4 separate regions of the Homo sapiens genome follow, and regions 1, 2 and 4 are each linked to region 3. The links are contacts of gene promoters, found by promoter capture Hi-C in blood cells and fetal thymus (Javierre and others, 2016). All regions are on one chromosome and are shown on one strand. Each heading gives the region's core, a stretch centred on a gene start or on the middle of the fragment in contact. The rest is flanking DNA. Distances are from core to core; before and after follow the strand shown. Region 1 overlaps NPHP3 (nephrocystin 3). Region 2 holds the start of SRPRB (SRP receptor subunit beta). Region 3 holds the start of CHCHD6 (coiled-coil-helix-coiled-coil-helix domain containing 6). Region 4 holds the start of ANAPC13 (anaphase promoting complex subunit 13).

What was found. The method cuts DNA at HindIII sites, captures the fragments that hold promoters and counts their contacts. A CHiCAGO score of 5 or more calls a contact.
Region 1: a fragment that was not itself captured here is called in contact with the fragment with the promoter of CHCHD6 in region 3 in 1 of 17 cell types (naive CD4 T cells); the score reaches 5.8 in naive CD4 T cells.
Region 2: a fragment that was not itself captured here is called in contact with the fragment with the promoter of CHCHD6 in region 3 in 1 of 17 cell types (naive CD4 T cells); the score reaches 6.1 in naive CD4 T cells.
Region 4: a contact is called between the fragment with the promoter of ANAPC13 here and the fragment with the promoter of CHCHD6 in region 3, in 5 of 17 cell types (activated CD4 T cells, total CD8 T cells, naive CD4 T cells and 2 more). The highest score is 13.1, in activated CD4 T cells.

Annotation. Positions count from the first base shown.
Region 1 is chr3:132,717,408-132,721,343 of GRCh38, forward strand. NPHP3 (nephrocystin 3) reads right to left here. Exons shown (of 27, transcript NM_153240.5): 2 at 2,298-2,423; 3 at 1,587-1,737. It overlaps NPHP3-ACAD11 (NPHP3-ACAD11 readthrough (NMD candidate)), which reads right to left. Exons shown (of 45, transcript NR_037804.1): 2 at 2,298-2,423; 3 at 1,587-1,737. Among named protein-coding and RNA genes, the nearest start is that of NPHP3-AS1, 2.4 kb to the right of the region's middle. The HindIII fragment of the contact is 846 bases long and covers 920-1,765 here.
Region 2 is chr3:133,804,296-133,808,547 of GRCh38, forward strand. SRPRB (SRP receptor subunit beta) reads left to right here and starts at 1,520. Exons shown (of 7, transcript NM_001379313.1): 1 at 1,520-1,707; 2 at 2,314-2,408; 3 at 3,451-3,528. The coding sequence starts at 1,554. LOC105374116 (a long non-coding RNA gene) reads right to left here and starts at 1,188. Exons shown (of 3, transcript XR_924513.3): 1 at 793-1,188. RefSeq lists enhancers at 1,172-1,281, 1,372-1,431, 1,572-1,781, 1,892-1,941, 1,972-2,081. The HindIII fragment of the contact is 1,371 bases long and covers 1,066-2,436 here.
Region 3 is chr3:126,701,303-126,705,603 of GRCh38, forward strand. CHCHD6 (coiled-coil-helix-coiled-coil-helix domain containing 6) reads left to right here and starts at 2,938. Exons shown (of 8, transcript NM_032343.3): 1 at 2,938-3,097. The coding sequence starts at 3,011. RefSeq lists enhancers at 2,518-2,577, 3,638-4,189 and a silencer at 3,128-3,327. The HindIII fragment of the contact is 1,689 bases long and covers 2,317-4,005 here.
Region 4 is chr3:134,483,061-134,487,455 of GRCh38, forward strand. It overlaps ANAPC13 (anaphase promoting complex subunit 13), which reads right to left and starts at 2,925. Exons shown (of 3, transcript NM_015391.4): 1 at 2,892-2,925. CEP63 (centrosomal protein 63) reads left to right here and starts at 2,997. Exons shown (of 15, transcript NM_001353108.3): 1 at 2,997-3,142. RefSeq lists enhancers at 2,580-2,699, 2,730-2,829, 2,910-3,019, 3,111-3,929. The HindIII fragment of the contact is 3,493 bases long and covers 1-3,104 here.

The sequences.
Region 1 (3,936 bases), core at 93-2,592, 6.0 Mb after region 3:
TTATGAACATGATGATTTTCTAATCAATTATATTTGTCAGAATATCTACATCCTTGATAACCTTAAGTAAATGGTTATTTGAGCTAAATCTCTGGCAAAACTGAGCTTACTATTTGTAGCTCTTTGAATCTCACATGGGTGACATTCCCCCTCAAGTGTTCCTTCTTCATGTTTAAAACAAAAATGAAAAAAGACCTAGAAAGGAATTTGTTTCTAACTTGCCAAGACAATTACAATAGTTTTGAAACACTGTACATTTGAGTATGTCAATACTGAAATAATCACTAAGACTTGTGTTGGGGTATAAAAGAGCATTTTCTCAGCTACTCTTGGCCATTAAGAATCTTTTTTTTTTTTTTTTTTTTTTTTTGAGATGAGTCTGGCTCTGTTGCCACACTGGAGTGCGGTGGCGCGATCTTGGCTCACTGCAACCTCCACCTCCTGGGTTCAAGTGATTTTCCTGCCTCAGCCTCCCGAGTAGCTGGGACTACAGGCACGCACCACCATGCCCAGCTAATTTTTGTATTTAGTAGAGACGGGGTTTCACCATGTTGGCCAGGATGGTCTTGATCTTTTGACCTCGTGATCCGCCCGCCTTGGCCTCCCAAAGTGCTGGTATTACAGGCATAAGCCACCGTGCCCGGCCTTCATTTTTTTTCCTTAAAAGTTAGCAATAAAAATTCCAGGATGTTGGTCAGATTCCAATGATACTACAATGAAAATTAAGAAGGAACTGTCAGTTACCATATTTTACTCCAAAATGCATCCATTTGTGAGAATATACTTACAGTTCATTACAAATGGGAGAGTGACTACATTTTTCCACTGCATTTTAAAATAGAATATTTTTCTTTTTTCAGTATCAATCACACTTTAACATTTTCTTAGAATATGTAAACCCTTTCACTCTGTGATTTCAAGCTTTTATTTCCAGAAAACATGTTTCATTTGTTTAATTATAAAACAAATACTTTTTGAATAGTTCACAAGGCTATACTGGAAACCACTCAGTGAACTATAAGGCAAGTATTCTAAATGATAGTTGCAAAGAATACATCATTATGTAAAGAAATAACATTGCAGAGACTAGTAACTCCAATATCCATTCTCCTCTTCTTTCTTCAGTAACAGAACACTACATTTTAGTTGGACACATGTCTGCCTGGCTGCTGATTACACTATCCAGTCTTCCCAGTTATAGTTCTGACTAATGGGATTTGAGAAGTGATCTTAGGTTGTACCTTCTGGGAAAGGAACGTGTTCTCCCCTTCCTTCTTTCCCTTGGCTAAAATGCAGATGTGCTGGTGGGAGCTGGGGTAGATATCTTAGACTAGAGAGTAAAAGTTATGGGTTAGGGTTGGCAGAGTGACAAGGTAGAAGGAACTTCAGTCCCCAAATTCATACACTTCGTGGAGAAGAGGTGTCTTAGCAGCTGACAGAGAGAACACACGACACTATTTGCAACAGTAGTTAAAGCAATAACCTAATATAGATAAGTAAAAGAAATCTAGCAGAATTCAAAGTTGGCTCTACATGTCATTACAGCCATGTTGAAAGCTCAAAATATAAATAGGATATACACTTACCAGTGACATCTGTACAGTTGTCATCTGAATCAGACTCCCCAGGATCAAATACTTGGATACCCTGAGCCTGTAGCCTCTGAAGTTTGCTCTCCAACTCCCTCTTGGCCCTCAGTAAGTCCTGAATTTCATTTTCTTTGGTCTCCCTAAAAATCTTTAAAAAGAATAATTTTAATGTTGAAAGCTTTTTCATAATCAAAAAGTTGTGTCATCAACTTTAAGGGAAAAATATTTCATTCATAAAACCAATATTCATTTGGTCCTCGATTTCCTCTTTCATAGGGTGAATGTCCTAGTACCTTTACCTTACTGTTTTGCAACTGGAAGCCACTGGAATTCCAGCAGGATGCGTGTCTGTGGTGTGGGTCTGTCATGTGCACTGCATGATGTTTAGGAAATTTGTCTCTCTCCCACTAAATACCAATAATACAACATCCCTAAACATTTCCAAATGCTTTTCCCCATATGGAAACGCTTTCCTTTTTTTCGAAATTACTATTAAAATGTTCACTTTCATACGTTTTTCTTTGAAATGATCTCAAGTTTACCACGTCCAACTCAAAAATGTGAAAGTGCTCTACACTAATTCTTACAACTTTCCTGAATCCTACATGACTTACTTCTATTTATTCATCGCATTATATATTATATATACTTTTAGAATATACTATTTTATTCTATGTTGCTTTGGGGGTAAAAATGTAAGGAATTTACCTTGAATTGCCTTTTAACTTTATCTCTGTCATGTTCAAATGTTGCTGCTCTCTCCATTGCTTGGTATTTCGCTTCTAAAGCACTTTCTTTTTCTCGAAGTATCTTCTGATACGTTTTTTGAAGTGCCTAGAATAATTTACCTTGTTATTTCCTAACAAAAATAGTCTTGCTCCTCAATTTTACATTCTTATATATATACATATATATATATATATGTTACGTATCTTAGAATTTTAAGTCTACTTATTATTTTACCAATTATCAGGAACTTCATGTTGCCATTTTATTCAAAACATGATGGAAAAAAACCGCAACCATGCTTGAACTACCACAAATAAAGACCAACATTAAGCTTTCAATGGAAATTAACTTTTTTTGAAACACTGCATCAGCTCTTAAACTTCCTTATGCCTTTTCCATCTTTGTGATAGTAAAAATTACATTTTGTAAGGCTTAACTTGAAGGATAAGTAGTTCTAAGAGACTGTGTGCCTGTTGGCACTATGTCTTATTCATCTCACCATCCCTTGAGCACTTCACAGTGCCTGGTACACTGCAAGTCTCCAGTAAATGTCTGACACAATGAATGAAATAAATATGGATAAGTTTTTTCATGCCTCGATATGTGAGAAAGGAACCAGTATGTTTCACAGGGAATCAGGATTGGTGACATGAGTGACTGTGACACTTGCCAACCCTTATTGCACTCCGCCCTGTTTGGTTTGGCCTTTTCTACCCCCACCTCACAGTTGTTTCCAACGTGCGGTGTCTGTTGGGCAGTGGCTTGGATACATTGAATCAGATATTTGAAATGCACTAGTCCATTTTATACATGCAAGTGCATTAAGGTTGCCCAGTAGGAAAACTGATAAGACAACAGATAAACTGCTACACGGACTTCTTCCCAGACAACGACAATAATTACACAACAGCTAATGAGGGAGTTTAAAAACAAAAACAACAACAACAACAACAACAAAACCTGACTAGAAGAATGTCTAGTCTTGAAGACAGGAGGCTTTTTTTCTTTTAGAAAAATCAGTCTGAGGTATTTATTTCACCCCGACTGTAACGACTCCGGGAACTCTTAGGCTGCCTATAAGTCTCTCCCACAGTAAAGAGTACACAAACGACACAACAACGACCAGAGGGGCCCCAAACTGAGGGCAAAAAGTTTTAGAGATTCGTTCACAGAAAAGCAACCTCTTGCTTTATACTATTTTTTTTTTTTTGATACGGAGTCTCGCTCTGTCACCCAAGCTGGAGTGCAATGGTGCAATCTCGGCTCACTGCAACCTCCGCCTCCCGGGTTCAAGCAATTCTCTTGCCTCAGCCTCCTGAGTAGCTGGGATTACAGGCGCGTGCCACCATGCCCGGCTAATTTTTGTATTTTTAGTAGAGACGGGGTTTCACCATGTTGGCCAGGCTGATCTCGAACTCCTGACCTCAGGTGATCCGTCCGCCTAGGCCTCGAAAAGTGTTGGGATTACAGGCGTGAGCCACCACGCCCGGCTGCTTTACATACTATTTTATTGAATTATAATGGACCTGCTACATGGAGGGCATGCAATAATTGCTTTTAGCGTAAATTAATCAAATGGACTAGGGAAATTTGACTACATCTAGAGAAGGTTTTCAAC
Region 2 (4,252 bases), core at 501-3,000, 7.1 Mb after region 3:
GTTTTGTGTGGCCCTGAGTGGTATCAAGCTAAATAACAAGCAGAGAGGGACGCTCTAAAAGAAAATAATATTTATTCTGGAATAGGCATTGCAATGGGACTACGCATGCCATAGTCAACTATGTGCATATTCAGGGGGGTGTAAAGGAAGACAAAGATTTTTAAAGAAAAAATGAGTCAGATTCCATAATTGTTTTAAGATAATTATCCTTGGCTACAAGGATCAAATGGCAAGGATGGCATCAGTACTAGGTTGGACAGGGAGTTGCTGGGTAGCCGTCCTAACAGATGTATTTTTTTGTGTGTAAGGTTGCGATGGCCTTTGTGCAAGTCTGTGGTTTTTGCAGTCTTTTGTGACAGTTTTTGTCATCAGGCATGGGTGCCTGAGAACCCTCCCTCCATGGCCTTTCACCAGCTCCATTTTTCTGATTAAAAAAAAAAATACAAGTGACTCCATTTTGATGCTGACAACTTTTTCAATGGCAATGTGGAACTGTAATAAACTTTTTTCAATCTTTCAGTGACACTGACATCTTCATGTCTCTACTCAGCCATACAATTAAATTAAATAATGTGTACATTTTAAAACAATGACAGCTGTTTAATGACAGAGACTGTGAACTGGGACCCTCTAGGCTGGCCACTTTTGGTGTTTTATTTGGGCCACAAGTTTTTGAATGCTTTCAATTACCTACAGAAAATTTCAAAAGTGGAAAATTTCCTATAAAAATCTGCCTTTATTGCTTCTCTTGAAAACTGGAAGAACCGGCCACCCAGGTCCCATAACACCTACCTGGCTGAATAGGGTCGGCCCTACTTTCAGCAGAAATACCTCCTGCAGTTTTCAACAGCCCCAGCTCTCCTGGGCGTTGATTTTCCTAGTTGCTTCCTTTAATGCAGACATTTGAGTTTGCAGCCCTAGATTGACAGTGTAGGGGCACTGAATTACTTAGGGTTCCCACATACATCGTTTCTTACACTCATTTTCTTCTGCACAGCACCTTTTTTTCCTTTAACCACTCGCAGATGCTAACTCATTCTTCAGGACTCAATTCCAATGTCCAGAAGCTTTTCTCTGAACTCATGATGGACTCCGCGTCCCATTATGTATTCCCACATCGCTCCGTACATCCATCTGTCACATCCCTTGTCACATTAAATTCAGATTAAATGTTTGTAGGATGCTTGAGTTCTTCACAAGTCTCACGTCACTTAGCGACGGTCGGGAACTCCTCAGTGGTAGTTTCGGGAGCCATTCATTCATTTTATTCATTTCATCATTCTTTCAACAGTCATAACGTAGGTGACGACGACTGACTCATCTCTTAAAAGATGTGTGTGTCCCTCGACAAATAACCTGTCTGCCCCTATCGTTCTGTAGGAGGACGGAGTCCCAGAGAACTACAACTCCCATCAAGCACTTGGGGGATCGCCGCGGCTGAGGGAGAGACTATGGCTTAGGAACCACCATTCGCGTGAGGCTCTGCTCCCCGCGCCTGCGCAGAGTGCAGGGCCACGTCGCTTTTGCTGTACCGGGGACCACGCGTCTCATCCATGGCTTCCGCGGACTCGCGCCGGGTGGCAGATGGCGGCGGTGCCGGGGGCACCTTCCAGCCCTACCTAGACACCTTGCGGCAGGAGCTGCAGCAGACGGACCCAACGCTGTTGTCAGTAGTGGTGGCGGTTCTTGCGGTGCTGCTGACGCTAGGTAAAAGGCGGCCGGTGGTCATGGCGGGTTTGGGGCGGGCAGAGGTCCGGGCTTTGGCTGCACCGCTGCAGGCCGGGGACGCGGGGCTGAGAGGGCGCCTTGAGGGCATCAGGAGGGTGAGACCCACCCAGTCTACACCCCACCCTCTCTCCTGAAGCAGCGGCAGCAGCTGGGCGTTAAGGGGGATGCCGGGCAACCCCCGGAGTTAACGTCCTGGTCCTTGGGGCGCAGATTGCTCTTCGTCATCTGCCCTGTTACGCTTGAGCGCGCTGTTCCTCGCCTTCCGCTGTTCTCACTGCAAAGACTCAGGGTCTTGACACCAACTTTCAGCCTCCCGTGTTTGCGTGCGGGCGCTGGGATACCAAGGTAGTGAGATAGCACCTGAGTCCCAGTCAGAGTAAGGACTGCAAAGAAAAGTTGACAGTTGACAGTGCCTGGCTCTCAGTGGATCCCTAACAACAGCAATAGTAACCATTATGATAAAAGTCAGTTCCAGGTGAATGAGGTGTTTCGTCACAGACTTCTGTGAATTTCCCCACCCCAGCCATGCACATATACTGATTCCCAAGGCGTAATTTTTGTTGTTTTTCTCTGTCTATTCCACAGTCTTCTGGAAGTTAATCCGGAGCAGAAGGAGCAGTCAGAGAGCTGTTCTTCTTGTTGGCCTTTGTGATTCCGGGAAAACGTTGCTCTTTGTCAGGGTAAATGATTTCATTGACACCCCTGTTAAGCTTAATAGAAAATTTTATAGATCCCAGTATTCCTGTCATCTCACGGTTTATTTTGTAAAAGAAGCTGATGCTGTTAAATTTGGAAGTTAATTCTTGACTTACTTGGGAGAACAAAAAGACTCGTAGAAACCCATAATTGAGAAATATTGGTCATTTCTCCTTTTTTTTTTCTGTTTGCCCTTGCCAGATGCTGATATTTAGTCTTTATCACATTCAAGGATTTTATTTAATTAGTTTCATTCCAGAATAGCAGAAGGCATAGAAGCTAGTGTCCTACAGTTTATAATTCCTTCGTTAACAAATTCTTAGGACAGTTTATCGAAGACACTTTTTCACAGGGTGATCCTTCTTTGACATAGTGGGCTAGTTAGGCTTCTTTTTACTAATATTTATTTTTAATACATTTAGTATTTTTAACAGTGTATTTTAATGTGGTGAATAGGAGAGGTTTTCTGCTTTTTAACTCTTCTTTTTGAGAGTATAAATTATTTCCCTTCCATTAAAGAAATACCTCCATTTTTTTTTTTTTTTTTTTTTTGAGGGAGTGTCTCACTCCAATGCCCAGGCTGGAGTGCAGTGGCGAGATCTCTGCTCATTGCAGCCTTGACCTCTGGGACTCAGATGATTCTCCCACCTCAGCCTCCGAGTAGCTGGGACTACAGGCGTGCAACACTACGCCCGGCTGATTTTTTATATTTTTTGTAGAGATGAGATTTTGCCATGTTGCCCAGGCTTCAAATCATTTTTGTTGGTTAAAAATCTTTACAGAAGCTTGGCAAATTTGGCCACTAACTGTCTTTTGAGAATAATGTTGTTTTTATTCCACTGAGGAGTAAAATATGCAATTAATTAGATTTTTTTCTACAGGTAAAAAAAATCAATATCGTCTTTTTCACCTGTCGGAAGCAGCATTCATTTACTTAACCTTACACCTGGGAGACTTAGAATAATATAACTCAATTTAGGTGTGCTATTAAAATGTTGAATATCACCCATCTTGTTTTTTTTACAGTTGTTAACAGGCCTTTATAGAGACACTCAGACGTCCATTACTGACAGCTGTGCTGTATACAGAGTCAACAATAACAGGGTAAGATGTTTGTGGAGTTTTGGAGTCTGACAGTCTTACTTTACTGTGGTGTGTCAGTTAAGGACATTTTTAGGATGAGTTCATCTGAGGATGTAAGTACCATTTGTAGCTTATTTTTATGGAGAAACATATTCTTTGTGACAAATTCTCTTGACAATCTGTACAGTAGATTTAATCATGCCCTCCTCTGCATTGTTGTACCTTAATGTACAGTAATGTTATATCACATTTTATTCTTATTTTTTGTTTCTGTGTCTTCTTTCCAACTTTACAATGAGTTCTTAAGAGTGGGCATTAAACCTTTTAAGTTTTGAATAGGTAATACATGCACATGGGACAAAAATTCAAAAGGTTAGAAAAGATATTTGGTGAAAAGTAATTTTTCCTTTCCTTTCCCCACTACCTAGTTTTCTCCTCAGAAGCAGTGACTTACTTTTTTTTGTATGTAGTCTTCCGGATGTTCTGTGCATATACAAACATGTCTGTATATCCTTTATTGTTGTTTTTTTTTAAATGCTGTTCTGCCCATTATTTTTCTCATACGGCTGATACAACTTGGGCTTTTCTTATTGTCCTACATTTGTATACATAGTACCATCTGGTTGGTTTATGAGCTGCATAGTACTCCACTCTGTTGCTATACCATAAAATTAAATTCTTACTTAATCTGGACCGTGTTAATAGACATTTAGTTTTGTTATTATAACCTTTGCTTTTACAAACA
Region 3 (4,301 bases), core at 1,688-4,187:
TTTGTTGTTTGTGCTTTTGGTGTTATAGCCAAAAAAATTATCATCAAGACCAATGATAAGAAGCTTTCCACCTATGTTTTCTTCTAGGAGTTTTGGGGTTTCAGATCTCACATTTAAGTCTTCAATTCATTTTGAATGGATTTTTTATGTGGTGTAATACAAGGGTCCAATTTCCTTCTTTTGAATGTGGATATCCCGTATTTCCAGCTCCAATTATTGAAGAGACTTTCCTTTCTCCATAGTGTGTATATTCTCGGCACCATTATCAAACATTAGTAGACCATATATGCATGGGCTCTCTATTTTTCTGCATTGATCTATGTATCTATTTTTATGCCAGTACCATACTCTTTTGATTACTACAGCTTTGTAATATAGTTTGAAATCAGGGAGTATGATGCCTTCAGCTTTCTGCTTCTTTCTCAAGATTGCTTTGATGATTTGGGGTCTTTTGTGGTTCCATATGAAATGTTAGAATTGTTTTTTCTATTTATGTGAAAAATGTCATTAGAATTTTGATAATGATGACATTGAATGTGTAGATTACTTTGGGTAGTAAAGCCATTTTAACAATATTAATTCTTCTGATCTATAAACACAGGCTATCTTTCTACTTATTTATGTCTCCTATAGTATCTTTCAACAGTGTCTTATAATTTTTAGTGTGCAATTTTTTGTGTGCATCTTTCTTTCACCTCCTTGGTTAAATTTATTCATATTTTATTCTTTTTGGTGTTATTGTAAGTGGGATCATTTTCTTAATTTCTTTTTGAATAGTTTGTTGTCAGAAATCAGTAATAGGAAGAACTTTGGAAAATTCACACATGTGCGGAAATTAAACAACACATTCCTGAACAGCCAATGAGCCAAAGAATAAATCAAAAGGGGAATAAACAAGTATCTTGAGACAAATGAAAATGGAAACACAAGGTACCACAACTTATAGGATGCAATAGAAACATTTTTAAGAGGGAAGTTTATAGCGAAAAATACCTACATTAAGAAAAAAGAAAGACATCAAACAACCTAATTTTATATCTCAAGGAACTAGAAGAGGAACAAACTAAGCCCCAAAGTCAGCAGACTGAAGGAAATAAAAAAGATGAGAGCAGAAATAGAAACTAGAAAAACAACAGAAAAGATCAACAGTAAAGATCAACAAAATTAACAAACCTTAGCTAGACTAACCAAGAAAAAAGGTAATTCACATAAACAAAAGTATAAATGAAAGAGGAGACATTACAACTGATATCACAGAAATACAAAAGATCATAATCAACTACTATGAACAATTATACACCAAGAAACTGGATAATTTAGGAGAAATGGACGAATTCCCAGAAACATACCATCTATCCAAACTGAGTCTTGAAGAAACAGAAAATCTGAACAGACCAATAACGAGTAAGGAGATTGAATTAGTAATCATAAACCTCCAAGGAAAAGAGACAAAGGAAAGCCCAGGACCAGGTCTGACCACATCTTTACTCAGTTTTCCCCGCGGCCCCCGGTCCCCACCCCTCTTAGCCTGTCTCCCTAACTTCCTTTCTCCTGAGGTGCTCCCCCAGGAAACTCCTTGCACCAGAATCCCCTACGCAGGCTCTGCTTATAGGGAAGAAATGGACGACAGAGGTGATGGAGTGGGGTGCGCCAATGAAGTATTTTGAATGAAACTAGCAGACACCTTTGTTCCTAAAGATTCCATCGTCACACCAGCTCTGGGATGTTTACTAGCTTCTTCACCCTGAGCTATTCTCAATCTCAGAGCCTTACTGCTCTCTCTCAATCATTCTCTCCTCCTCACCCCTTTCTTTCCAGGTTGCCAATAGGAGCTCCAAATATTTTCTGGCTATTTCATGTAGCCATCTAGTTTTCCTCAGCTCGGCTTCAGGCGCACTTTTGCAAATCAAAGCCATTCAGCAACTCAGAGGAACAAAAAGGGGCTTATTTGAAGGTAGCAGTGTCTATGACTGGCAACCGTCTGTGTGCTCCCTTACACATAGGGTCCTGTGTAAGAAGCCTACACACAATGCCTGGCACACTGCACTCCACACATGGTATGTACACTCCTTGGGCAATGCCTCCTAACGGCTTAGGACCATTCCCTGTCCTCCCGGGGCGTTTAGAATAAAACCCACACTCAGACCCTGCCTCACAAGACCCGACATGATTTGGGTCCTCACCACTCCTCTGCCCTCTTCTCACTTTCCAGCCATGGGATGACCCCTCTTTCTCTTTTCCTGCCTGAGACTCCCAGGAAACCTCTTCCCCTACCTTTTTCTACATAAATCCTACTCTCCCGCCGGCTCAGTTCAAAGCTTCTTCCTCAGAGGTTGCTCTGGCCACTGAAATTAAAAGAGGCCTCCTTCTGTTCATTTTACTAGTGGCATCGCCATGCAGTTTTCCGTGTATTACAGTCAGTTTCCTTGCGTGCGTGTTTGGCTTTTCACTTGTTTTCCCCTTGCACTGTAAACCTCTCAAGGGCAGGACACTCGCTGTCTTGAGGGGCGCTGTAATGCCAGGGCCAGGTCCCTGCTCGTCTGGCGCTCAGCCCGTGCTGCTCTACACGTGTTTGCTGAATGAATGGAGCAGTGAACCCTCAGAAATTCGCCTCCAGATGAGCGCCTTGGCCGTCTCGGCGTCTCCTGGCCTCAGAACATCACCCTTGGCTCTCCCTCAAGGGGGAGCTCCCAAAGCGAGAACGTGACCCTGTCCTGCACCCAGCCCTCCACTCCAGGGCCTCCGCCGGTACACATCTTCGGCCTCAGCCTAACGCACTCTAGCAGGCACAGACCGCCACGCCCCCACCCCTCCAGACGGAAGGACTGCAATCCCCACAAGGCACCGCGACTCAGCGCCACCCGATTGGTGAAGCCTCTGGCGTCGGCCAATAGGACGTGGCTTTGTTGGCGTGTGCCGCGGCCGCGCGAGTCCTGGAAAGCGTTGTTGGCCCGGTTGCTCTGGAGCCGGGTCTCGGGTCTGGTGGCTGCCGGCCCTGCGGCATCTCGCCATGGGGAGCACGGAGAGCAGCGAGGGCCGCAGGGTGTCCTTCGGAGTGGACGAGGAGGAGCGGGTCCGGGTGCTGCAGGGTGTCCGGGTGAGCGGCGCCGCCTGGGCCGGGGCGGGCGTGGAGGCCGCGGGCGCGGGGGGGAGGTGCGGGGCGGAGCGCAGGGCCGGGGCTCTTTCCACGCGTGAGGGGCGTGGGGCTTGGGAGACTCCGGGGGCTCAGGCCAGGAAGAGGCTGAGCCGAGACGCGAGCCCGAGGCTGGCAGCCTTGGAGCTTCGCGACATGGGCTTCAGGGAAGGAGGAGTGAAGAACTGTACAGGTGCGAGGCCCCTGGGACACGAGGGACGCCCTGGCCACGTCCTGGCTCCGGTCGGCTTAGTTTTTACGTTTCTTGAATTTGCGCCCGGCCTCCCAGCCCGTGGCCCCTCAGGTGCGCGCATCTCGTTCTGGGTACGCGGTGTCTCCCACCTGGGCTTTGCCTGGGGACTCAGCTCTTCCCCGCCGGCCTGTTCTCCACAGCACATCTGCGGGGCGCAGGAAGAACCATAGCTCAGATCTGATCCCCTTCCTTGCCTGAAACCCTCCAGTGGGTTCCTAGCGCGCTTGGATGATGCCTTCCCTGGTTCCAAAGCTGGCCGCTGCCCGTCGACCTCTGGGGACTGCATCCCTCTGGGACTGCATCTCGTGCCATTTCCCTCGCGTGGCACCCGCACCTCGTCCCCAGCCTCAGGACCGCCGTGTTTTCCTGGAGGGTGCCGCTGGCTCAGCTCAGGGTCTGTGCGCCGGCTGTTCTCTCTCCTTCAGCTCTCCTTAAATCCCGCTGTTTCTTGTAATTCTTGTTGTAATTCAGATATCACCAGAGAATCCTTCCCTGACCACCCAATCTGAAGTAACCTCCCACCCCGCGTCCAACATTTATTATTTTCATAGCACTCATCACAGTGATCGCTTCTGTTGATAATTGTTTACTTGTTTATTGCGTTTACTGCTAGAGTGTAAGCTTTTTGAGGCTAAGGTTCCTGTCTGATTGAAGACTGTCCCCAGAACCCAGAAGAATAAAAGCAGCTCTTATTGCAGTGTAGGGGCCATGCGTTGGACTAAACCCTTTATAAGTTAACTGATTTAATTTTCAACAGCCCTATTTAGCCCATTATTGTAGATTAAGGAGAAGTGAGGCACTGAGAGGTGAACGAACTGATCCAAGATCATGTAAATAGTAAGTGGGAGAGCTGGGATTGAAACAAGCCAATTCCAGGGCATGTTGCTGTGCTCGGCCTCTTCCTCCACCTGTGTC
Region 4 (4,395 bases), core at 1,675-4,174, 7.8 Mb after region 3:
GGTGACTACTTTGATCACAGTTCCTCTCTCCAACCCCAACTGATACATATTTTATAGTGTATACTGGACAGGCATAGCCCAGCTGACAGACCAGTGTCATAGAGTGTGACAGGAGAGCAACACGTTAAACGAGGCCCTCAAATATTAATATGTTGCATCTCAATGTAGCTCTTCTCTTCTAACTTGAACATTCACCTTTTCCTGTTTGTGATGCCTTTGATGAGTCCCTGATTCATAATGGCCAGCTAAGTTTCCTTTCTAGCCCCTGGCTCAAACCTCAGCATTCTTAGGCACAGGAGTCACACGAACATACTGTAAAGGAAACGGCTTCCTTCCCTAAAATAGTACCCAGGCTGAGATCTGAATAAAGCACTTCTAGGTGAACACCAGTGGTAGAACCTCATACTGCTAAAGTTTCTCCAGTTTCTGCTTCCCTTTGGGGTAGCTCCTTCCTCGGAGGTTCCTTCCTCTAATTCTTAACGCTACACTCCCTTCAATTTCTGGCCCAAATGGTCACGATGCTTATTTAGCTCCTTGACCATGGCTGATTCCCCATTTTTCTCTGAAACTGCTATAATCTAATCCAAAAGGCTGGCTAGCTTGTAGGATACTTCTGGATTTCCCTGTTTCCAAGGTTGGGCCCTGACTCATCATAGGCATCATCCTATGGGTGCTCCCTGCTACCAAGTGACAATCCAAAAAGCCCGGAAGCCACTGGCATCAAAGGTACTCTCAGTTTCTGAGACTATGGAGACTCACACAATAAGCAATTTTGGGGTGGTGGAGCGGGGTGGAACCCACCATCTGGAGGTGCTTTTTTCAGAGCTCAGCCTGGGTGATATTTTAAGGAAGGAAGCCATTTCCTTTACAAGCTCAACTTCAGACATCGTCTTGCCTTGAGGATTTGTGTCAGGTCTGTAGTTGGTCCCTTCGCATAGTCCAGTTTAGTGTTATCTCAGTATGTTCATGAGCTCCTGTGCCTAAGAACGCTGAGGTTTGGGCCAAGGCAGGTGGAAGTTTTTGTAAAAATGGCTCACAGGGCCGGGCGCGGTGGCTCGCGCCTGTAATCCAGCACTTTGGGAGACCGAGGTGGGCGGATCACGAGGTCAGGAGATCAACACCATCCTGGCTAACAGGGTGAAACCTCGTCTCTACTAAAAATACAAAAAATTAGCCGAGCATGGTGGCAGGCGCCTGTAGTCCCAGCTACTCGGGAGGCTGAGGCAGGAGAATGGCGTGAACCTGGGAGGCGGAGCTTGCAGTGAGCCGAGATAGCGCCACGCGCCACTGCACTCCAGCCTGGGCGACAGAGCAAGATTCCGTCTCGGAAAAAAAAAAACAAAAAAAACCAAAAAGGCTCACAGCTGTCCCCCATAGGATAACTGCAAGATATCCCTAACACCTTGGCAAAAATTATACACAGATTGGTGTGGGAAAGGGTTTACACCCCCATGACAAGGATCTCGGCAAAAGTTAAGCAAAATGCGCCCTGCTACTTCTGTCACCGGTGAGCCAGGTGAGGGCTTAATTAATCCAGTACTCAATAATTAACCGAGTACTACCCAGTGGATAACTCAAAGCAAGACGAAGTTTTGGTTATACTTTTGAAGTCCCTGTCTTACAAGTGCTCCCCACTTTCCTGCTGCTACTCCTTTGTCCTTGCTGCTCTGTCTCCTGGGATACCCTTCTCACTTTCCTCAGCTGATCCAAACCTGACTTTCGGAGGCCCACGTAGATTTTCCACCTTTGTAAAGTTTTCTCAAATCACTCGAGCTTCAGTAGGCCTTCTATCCTTGAACTCTTGCTTCTTGTCCTAACTTAATCTACTAAACAAGCTAGGTCAGCTTTGTGGTCAATTGCTCAGGTATTATTGCCTCCAACTGTTACGTGTACATTTTGTACCCATGATTCCTTAGTAGATCTTTCCACATTTGGTCTCAATCTTTTTCACCTGTCCCTTCTCCAAACACCTCCAACCCTGTCACATTTTCCAGCCTTGACAGTTAAAACCCCCTTTTCCACATCACTAATGCCACTCTTCCTTTCAAGATAAACGCAGGCGTCAGCTCTTGAAGGTCAACATCCCATTTCCGGGATTAGGCGCGAAGGTGCCTTCCCTCATAAGGGGCTGGAAGGATGGGAAGCATCAAGATAATCAATGCCCAGGGCACACTGATTATCTTGTGTATTAAAGCCACCGTCCCAAGTACTCGTCACCCAGTACGACCACTGTTTCCTGAACAAACTTTTCTTACTCACGTGACAGTCCCGATGCCTGCAATGCTCTTTGTTTCTTCCTTTTTATTCCAGTGAACCCACAGTCAGTCTAAAAATCTTAGGTCCCAGGTCGCTTCCTATAGGAGGCCGCCTCCAAACCCCAGGCTGAGTGCGGTCCCGGTACCCACCCCTCCAGGGGTCTCACAGTTCCCTAAGCACAGAGCATGGCACCAACTGGGGAGTCTGTCAAACAGCCCAGATGAATGTCTTTCCAAACACGCGGTGCCTGCGTTTCCAGGGACAGGGACACGTCTTATCAATTTCTATATATTACAGCTTTGTAAACATAATATTTATAAAATCAAAGCGGGAAAGCCTTGTTCCTTGCTAGAAATGAGCCTCGCAGGCCACCACCATCCGCACCGTACGACAGGCCGTCCCTCAGCTGCGGCTTCCTGCCTCAGGCAGGATGTACCAAACGTGGAAGCGGAGACGGGGAGGTCTGGGGGTGCCACGCAAGTCCCTTTCCTCCCGACACGAGTGCAGTAAAGAAAAACGGTTATGAGCGTAAAGTGACAGCCTCGGCCGATGGGAATAGGGGGAAGTCCGACACTGAGCAACGAACGCATTCCCGCGCCTCCAAAACCTAGGCCGGGGGCGCTGGAAACCCTTACCGGCACCCGGCCACCGCGGCAGACGCTTGCTCCTGCCACGCCCCCCCCCCCTCCCCCGCATCACGTGTCTGCACTCGCTTTCCTCGGATTCCCGGATGTGGGTGAGTTCATTTGCTCGCGTGCAGGGGAAGTCTGGAGAAGGCATTGTTTCAATTATTAAAAGTGTGGGGGCAGTGGGCGGAACAAACGCGCCGACTACAGAGGCTGGACGTAAGCTTAGCGGTGGCGCGCGTGCGCAGCGCCGGCCCGAGGTAACGGCGGGAAGGCTCAGGGGCGTGCTTGCGGCAACCCTGTAACCGCCGGTGCGCAAGTTGGAGGGGCAAGGGGCTGCCGTGTCCTGGTCTGGAGGCGGCCCAGGCTGCCTTGGTGATTCTGGCTTCGCGGCCTCATGGCTTGCGGCCGGTTTGCGCAACGGCCTGCGAACCACCAGGCGCGTCCCCGCCGGCTTGGGTCCGCCCCGAAGCCCAGTCCCTCGGCCTGGCCCGCTATGCCCTGCACACTGGCGGAGTCTGGCGTGGCGCAGCCCGGCGTGGGGTTCGGCCCCGCCAGGTGGTCAGCCCTTCCTCGGAGTCCAGGTGGCTGGGGGCGCTTCGGAGAGTGGCCAGGTGGGCGAGCGAGCTGCGCCCAGTACTCACCTTCCCCGGCGGACCCACCTTCCTTTTCAGCGGAGAGACCCCAGTGCGGCCTCCCTGCCAGGGCTGCTGTCTAGCTAGCGCTGTTGGGACTACTTCATTCACGGCACAAGGGGACCCGCTCATTTAGTGTGGCATGTTAAGGTTGGCAGCTTTTAAAATAGTGAGTTGGTTTAAACGGTTATGTTAGTACAAGAGGTACGGAAATGTGGCATAAATCGTGGACTGAAATTGGAGAACCCTGAACTAACGGCTCCATGCACACAAATGAGGGATAGAAAGAAATAAGGACGGTTTCTTAGGAACACTTTAATCATGGAGATACTTGAAGACAGTACATTTAGGCTTATAATGTGGTTTTTCTTACGTCCCTTACGACATCAGGAGAGTAAAGATGAGTATGATGTCAGAGACAGGTCGTCTTTTACAGTTTCAGCACCGTACGCTGATATGCACAGAGTAGTTTTCCCTGAGCCTTATGTCTGGTTAAACTTATTAAAAGAATTTATTATTTTAATAAAGCAGTATTGTAGGGTAGATGCCCTGTATTTATACAGTTCCTCAAGTGCTTGCATTTATTTTTTAGATACGAGGAAATCATAAGGATCGTTGATTAGATTTCTGTTAGCTGTAGCTTAATGATAAAGTGTATATATTTTCTTATTTGGCATGCAGTACCATTTTTAGATTGATTTTTATTTTGAGTTTGCTTTTTGACTGTGGCATTATCAGTGATCAGGGTAGTAAAAAGCTCTGAAACTAAATTAGAGTAGAGATTTATAAACAGGCACACTGCCTTTTAAAATGTATGTAGATGCAAATCTAAAAGTTGTTTGTAAAAATTGTGTATGTTGATTGTACTGATGCCATTT